Regions from separate parts of the Homo sapiens genome. Here region 1 is linked to region 2. The links are contacts of gene promoters, found by promoter capture Hi-C in blood cells and fetal thymus (Javierre and others, 2016). All regions are on one chromosome and are shown on one strand. Each heading gives the region's core, a stretch centred on a gene start or on the middle of the fragment in contact. The rest is flanking DNA. Distances are from core to core; before and after follow the strand shown. Region 1 overlaps ERC1 (ELKS/RAB6-interacting/CAST family member 1). Region 2 holds the start of FBXL14 (F-box and leucine rich repeat protein 14).

What was found. The method cuts DNA at HindIII sites, captures the fragments that hold promoters and counts their contacts. A CHiCAGO score of 5 or more calls a contact.
Region 1: a fragment that was not itself captured here is called in contact with the fragment with the promoter of FBXL14 in region 2 in 3 of 17 cell types (total CD8 T cells, M0 macrophages and naive CD4 T cells); the score reaches 6.6 in total CD8 T cells.

What each region holds. Positions count from the first base shown.
Region 1 is chr12:1,131,469-1,134,943 of GRCh38, forward strand. All of the region lies in intron 7 of ERC1 (ELKS/RAB6-interacting/CAST family member 1), which reads left to right. Among named protein-coding and RNA genes, the nearest start is that of ERC1, 140 kb to the left of the region's middle. The HindIII fragment of the contact is 1,344 bases long and covers 1,326-2,669 here.
Region 2 is chr12:1,592,996-1,596,256 of GRCh38, forward strand. FBXL14 (F-box and leucine rich repeat protein 14) reads right to left here and starts at 1,586. Exons shown (of 2, transcript NM_152441.3): 1 at 1-1,586. The coding sequence starts at 1,071. RefSeq lists enhancers at 1-143, 661-850, 2,221-2,290 and silencers at 61-110, 1,091-1,960. The HindIII fragment of the contact is 12,621 bases long and covers 1-3,261 here.

The DNA of each region.
Region 1 (3,475 bases), core at 748-3,247, 460 kb before region 2:
TTTTTTTAATTGAGGCAGAGTCTCTCTCTGTCACCCAGGCTGGAGTGCAGTGGCACAATCTTGGCACACTGCAAGCTCCACCTCCCGGGTTCGCACCATTCTCCTGCCTTAGCCTCCCGAGTAGCTGGGATTACAGGTGCCCACCACCACACCCAGCTAATTTTTTTGTATTTTTTTTAGTAGAGATGGGGTTTCACCCTGTTAGCCAGGATGGTCTCGATCTCCTGACCTTGTGATCCGCCCCCTTGGCCTCCCAAAGTGCTGGGATTACAGGTGTGAGCCACCGCGCCCAGCCAGAATTAATTGTTTTTTGATCAGAAGTGAGAGGCCAAAACAGTAGGGTAGCCATTTTCTGTTCACTTCCATTGGTAGAGAAAACCTTGTAGACAAAAGCCTTCTGTTTTTATTGAAGTTGGCATGACCTGTTTGCTACAGACAAACTTGGCAAGTTGGGCGAATGCTGTTCCTGCAGCTCTGCTGGTGTGAATAAACAAGGTTTTATTCCTCCTGCCAGGACTGGTGTCAGGGCAATGACTGTGTGTGTCCTGCTGGTCTTTGAGGGGTTTTCCTGAATATGTTTTTTGTGGTTTGTAAAATATGGACCTCACGCAAAATTATACTACAAATTTAGTTCACTCCAAACCAAAAGATCAGTGTAGAATTCAGAGCAATTAATCTGGTAGTAGCAAAGTGGTTTTTGTGGTGGTTTTTATCTCAAATCTCCAGACTAGCATATTTGAATTCTGTACTGCACAAAAAAGCAGACTAAGACAAAGTGTACACAGGTGATGTGAATTGAATACTTAGTCAATAAAAGATCATTTAATAATTAGGGGTATGGACGGGCAGTTTCTGTTCCTAATATTTATTATATGAAATATTTTTTGTATCAAAGCCTGTGTTTCCAGCCACACTTATACTAAAGGTTTGTATGTTTATAACAAGAGTTCTTATTCTTTCCCTTTTCAGTCACCTTTTTCGGTCACCAATTCATACTTGACACTCTCTCAGTGCCGTGCGGGTATTTATGTCCGGTCAGCATTGACATGTTTCCAGGTCACTTAACTGAATCATGGATCCAATATAAAGTGCAGCTTGGGCATCTGGGTGCCTTTCATAAAGAGGCAGCAATGTGGGGTCTCACAAATGTTGTCCTGTGTGATGGTGGTGCCATCAGAATGAAAAACACTTAGAAGTGATGAGGGATGTGTTCCTACATACAGATCCATGTCCCGCAGATGGAAAGGCTTTTTTCTGAAATTAATGCTTAGAAGAACTGAGAGACAAGAAAATTAGGCAGTTGAGACTTCAGGTTTGAATGCCTAAGCTTTTTGCCTTTGTAGTAAGAATTTGTGTATTTAGGACATACAGGATAAAATAATGTGGGTTTTTTTTTTTTTAATTGAGACGGAGTTTCGCTCTTGTCACCCAGGCTGGAGTGCAGTGGCACAATCTTGGCTCACTGCAACCTCCGCCTCCTAGGTTCAAGTGATTCTCCTGCTTCAGCCTCCCGAGTAGCTGGGATTACAGGCATGCACCACCACGCCTGACTAATTTTTCTGTATTTTTAGTAGAGACGGGATTTCACATTGTTGGCCAGGCTGGTCTTGAACTCCTCACCTCAAGTGATCCACCCACCTCGGCCTCCCAAAGTGCTGGGATTACAGGTGTGAGCCACCACACCTGGCCGGTTTTTTTTTGTTTGTTTGTTTTTAATGAGGTGCTTTGTTTTTTGCTTTTGGTTAGAGGTAGTGGTAGATTAATATATAGTATACAAAATACAGATTAGCATGTAGTAATTAGATGCAAATGATTATGTGATTTATTTATTTTTCAAATTTCTGACATGTATACTTTTCTAAGGCTTTGACCTCCTTAACTGTGTAGAAGGGTCACCAGATTCAGTAAGCACCTTCGCCATGACTGATGCCTTGTAATGGGTTCAGCTAATAGGAACCAAACCTGACACTGTCAAATAGGATTAGTAGCAACACTGGCTGGCTTGAGCTGTGCCTGAATGCCAGTGGATAAGGGTCAGTGGGTTCTTTGGCATCTTGAGCAGCCTGGTTGTTGAATTTCATATTCCACTAAGGTCTTTACTCTGTGGTTGCAATCCTTTTCTTTTAACTGAATCAATATTCAGTCTGTTCTGACACTTCCCTTTTGGACCTTTTTTTGTTTGCATGGCGGAGTGTTGTGATTTTTACTCTCTTGGCAAATTTCAGGTATATAATACAGCATTATTAATTACACGCTGCTGTATATTAGATCCCCAGAACTTACTCGTTTTATAACTGAGGGTTTGTACCCTTTGATCAGCATCTCCCCATGCCTCTCCCTGTTCCTATCCCCAGCCCCTGGTAACCACCATTCTCTTCTCTGTTTCTTTGAGTTCAACTTTATTCAGATTCCATATGTAAGTGAGATCATACCGTAATCTGTGTTATTTCTGATCTCAGTTTTCACTGAATGCTTTTTGTCCTTGTATTATGAGTTGTGTTTTTCTGCTTCTTTGCTTGTCTGGTGAGTTTGGGTTGGATGCCAAGCATTGTGAGTTTTACCTTGTTGGGTGCTAGGCATTTTGTATTCCTGTAAATATTACTGAACTTTGTTTTGTGATGCTGGTAAAATACTTGGAAATAGTTTCATTCTTTTGGGTCTTTCATTTAAGCTTTGTTAGATGGTACCAAAATTGCATTTATTCTAAAGCTAGTCTCCTCGTGCACCCCCTCCCCCTTGATTATATTAAAGAGATTTGCAAAAATTTAAAACAATTATATTCTTCTTACTATTTTAGGGGGAAAATACAGGTTTTTGAAATTAAAATGTTACTTTGATTAACATAATGGGTTTATTGTTATTTAAAAGCTGTTCTAATTTTTTTTTTTTTTTTAAAGATACAGTGTCTTGCTTTGCTACCAAGGCTGGAGTACAGTGGTGTGATCATAGCTCACTGCAGCCTTGAACTCCTGGGCTCAAGCGATCTTCCTGCTTCAGCCCCCTGAGTAGCTAGAACTATAGGTGTGTGCCACCACACTTGGCTAATTAAAAAAAATTTTTTTTTGTAGAGATAGTGTCTTGCTATGTTGCCCAGGGAGGTCTTGAACTTTTGGCCTCAAGTGATCCTTCTGCCTCAGCCTCCCAAAGTGTTGGGATTACAGGTGTGAGCCACCGCACCTGGCCCTAATTTTGAGTGTAGCAAATATTGATAGATATAACTCACATAAATAAAAACTCAATAATTGGGGGTCCTCAGTAACTTTTTTTTTTTTTTTTTGAGACATAGTTTTGCTCTTGTTGCCCAGGCTGGAGTGCAATGGCGTGATCTCAGCTCACTGCAACCTCCGCCTCCCGGGTTCAAGTGATTCTCCTGCCTCAGCCTCCTGAGTAGCTGGGATTACAGGCATGCGCTACCATGCCTGACTAATTTTGTATTTTTAGTAGAGACAAGGTTTCTCCCTGTTGGTCAGGCTGG
Region 2 (3,261 bases), core at 336-2,835:
TTGGCTCAGGTGCTCAGCGATCAGCTCCAGGCCCTTGTCCGTGATGCGCACACACTGTCCAATGTTGAGCGTGCGCAGCCCGTGCATCTGCCGCACCATGCGGTTGATGCCATCATCACTGATGTGGCAGGAGCAGAGGGAGAGAGACTTGAGGCCATCCAGCCCCTGGGCTATGTAAGCCAGACTCTGGTCTCCCACCTTGTCACAGAACGAAACATCCAGCCCCGAGAGGCGCAGGCTGCCCATGGCCAGATGCATGATGCCCGTGTCACTGATGTTGTCACAGGAGCGCAGGTTGAGGCTGCGCAGGCTGCCCATGTGCGACAGGTGCAGGAGGCCAGCGTCCGAGATTCCCCCACAGAAGCTGAGGTTGAGGAGCCTCAGGCCCGTCAGCCCTCGGGAGATGTGCTTTAGAGAAAGATCTGTGAGCTTCTGGCAGTCCTGTAGCGTGAGCTGCTCCAGGCCCAGGCAGCCCTCCGCCGCGCTGCGCGTCATGCCGGCCAGGTGCCCGATGCCCACATCCGAAAGGTGGCGGCAGCTGCGGAGGTTAAGGCTCTTGAGGCGCTGCAGACCCCAGGCGATGAGCAGAAGGCCAGTGTTGGTGATGTTGCTGCAACCTCCCAGCTCCAGCACCTCCAGGCCCTTGAGGTACTGGGCTATGCGGCCCAGGCTGCTGTCAGTGATCTGCTTGCAGAGGCTCAGGTTGAGAGCGCGCAGGGAGCCGATCTCCTGCACAAACGCGTGGCCCAGCCCGTTGTCGGTGAGGTTGTAGCAGCCGCTGAGGTTGAGGCTCTCGATGTTGGCCATGCCCTGGATCACGTAGCTGAGGCTGCGGCGGAGGCTCAGGATCTGCACCCGGCGGATGCCCCGGGCCTGCAGGCTGGGGAACAGCGACGGGTTGGCCCGGCGCAGGTGCAGCTTGGCCTCCACCCCCCGCCACACCGACTTGTGGTAGGCGGCGTCCCGCCAGGCGGTGCACACCTGCGCCGCGCGCCCCTTGTCCCGGACGTCCAGGTAGCCGAAGATCATGGCCAGCAGCTCCGGGAACAGGCATGAGATGTGGGTCTCCATCTTCCTCCTCCCCCCTCCGCGGCGCTGGGGGGAGGAGGCGCGGGCCCCGCCGCTCCGGCCTCGGGCAGGCGACGAGAGCGCTTCTCCCCAGCCGCCGCCGCCGCCGCCGCCGCCGCCTCGGGCCCAACGGCCGGCCCCTCCCCGCCTTCCGGCTCCGGCCGCCGCCGCCGCTCCTCCTCCTGGTCCGTCCGTCCTTCCTTCCTGCCGGCTGCGCCTCCGGCCCGGCCCTCCCCCGCCCCGGGCTCCGCACGGCGCTCACATCCCGGGCGGGGAAGGCGCCTCGCTCTCGCTCCCGGAGGCCGGCCGCCGCCGCCGCCTCGGCTCTACCCACGCCGCGCCCGGGCCGCGCCGCTCCGCCCGCGCCGCCGCGCCCACGCCCCCTGCCGCATCCTCCGCCTCCTGCCGCCGCCGCTGCTCCGCGGGCCGGCGGGCGGCGAGGGGGCCCCGGGGGCCGGGCGCACGGGCTCCGGGCGCGGAGGAGGCTTCCTGCTGCCTTTGTCTCTCGCCCGCTTTTCAAACCTCCCAGCCCCGGGCCGCCCGCACTCCGCCGCCCAGGCGGGGGGACCAGGAGGCCAATCCCGGCCGGCGGCGTGCGTTCCTTCTCCCCCGCCGTCCGCGGCCACTTGGGAGCTGCCGGCCCCCGCACCAAGGACGCCGCGGCCGTCCGGCCGGAGCGCGGCTCGGCGCAGACCCCGGGCGAGCAGGCGGGCCGTGCGTTTGGTAGCGCCCGGGCCGGCCCCGGCTCCGCCGCCCTGCAGCGCGTCCCCTCCGCCGCTCCCGCTCCCCCGCGCCCGCGCAATGGTACGGGCCTGCGCTGCCGGAACTGTGGAGCCGTTGCCCTGGAAACCGAGTTCGGCCTGGTCCCGTGGCCCCTGATTTTTAACCCTGTGGGCGCCACGGGGGAGCGGCAGCTGTCAGCAGAGCGCCTCCCCACCCGGCTTCTTTTCACCCGGTAGCCCGTTATTGAGCCGTTCCCTCTCTGGGCCACGCCCCAGCCCCGTTCCTTCTTTTTCTTTGCTGTTGAAGTCTGCGCAGCCCCTTCCCACAGTTTACCCCTGCAATTCGTTACCCTTATTTCACACCCCTCTCCCTTGATTATCCCTGCGAGAGCCGCCTCCTATAGCAGTGCTCAATAATCGTCACCCCAACTCTCCTTTTCTTACTGTCCCTAATGCCCCTTAACGCCTCATTATCACACCCCCTGCTCCCCCGGTTGGGGCTGTTTACTACGACGCCTTTCTCTCCAGTCTTGTGTCTTAAATTGGAGAGAAACTCGGCTGTACTCATCTTAAACAATGACCCCCTCCAGTCGGTGTTCTAGAAATTTCTAGAATTATCCATGACTACTTCCTTCTAGCATCTTCTGATGGTTTCCAGACACGCTGTGTGTGTTTCCCTCGGTACTTGATACATCAAAACTTCCCTCTACTTCTGAACGCTGCTGCGCCACCAATGCCCTCAGTCCGCTTTGCTTACAGGGGAACAGCCTTCCCCTAAGCCTTGTTTTAGGAGCTTTCTCCTTGTCATCAGCCTTAGACTATCAGTTGTATGGCTCAGTTGTACTGATAGTCAATATATTCGTATATGCTGAATCCAATTTACTTTTTGATTAAAATGGAATGACAGTTGAACTTGGTTTAAGACAATCCAGTCGTGTCTGTTGGTTTATCAACCGTTTTATGGAAGCAGGGCACAATTCCATTCTAGGATGTAGCCCCTGGGTCCTAAATGTCCGTACTAAGGATAGAATTTCAGAAGTTTCATTTTAACTACCCCCAAACCAAGAATTTTTGGATCAGAGAAAATGATCCTCTGTATTTTAATTTATGGATCCACACAACTAGATACAAGACCAGCGGATTTATCAGAAAGGGAAAATGGTTTCATTGATTCTTTGAGGACCTGAACAAGATTTGGAAGGGGTTCCATATTCAGTGTAGGAGAGTAACTTTTGCCCAAGCAACCACTATTAGACCAAATACATACAGATTCAGTAATAGGCATAATACACCTTTTACACCCCTACCACTCCTCTTTCCTAAATCAGGAAATGCAGAAGCAAAAATTCTCGCCAGCTTGTTACCTCACCCACATTACACGCAGTGTGGAGCCCATAGATTTTTATAACCTTCTTGAAAAAATAGACTGTACTGTTAGTCATCCAGTACATCCAGATGTACGGTGGCAGTA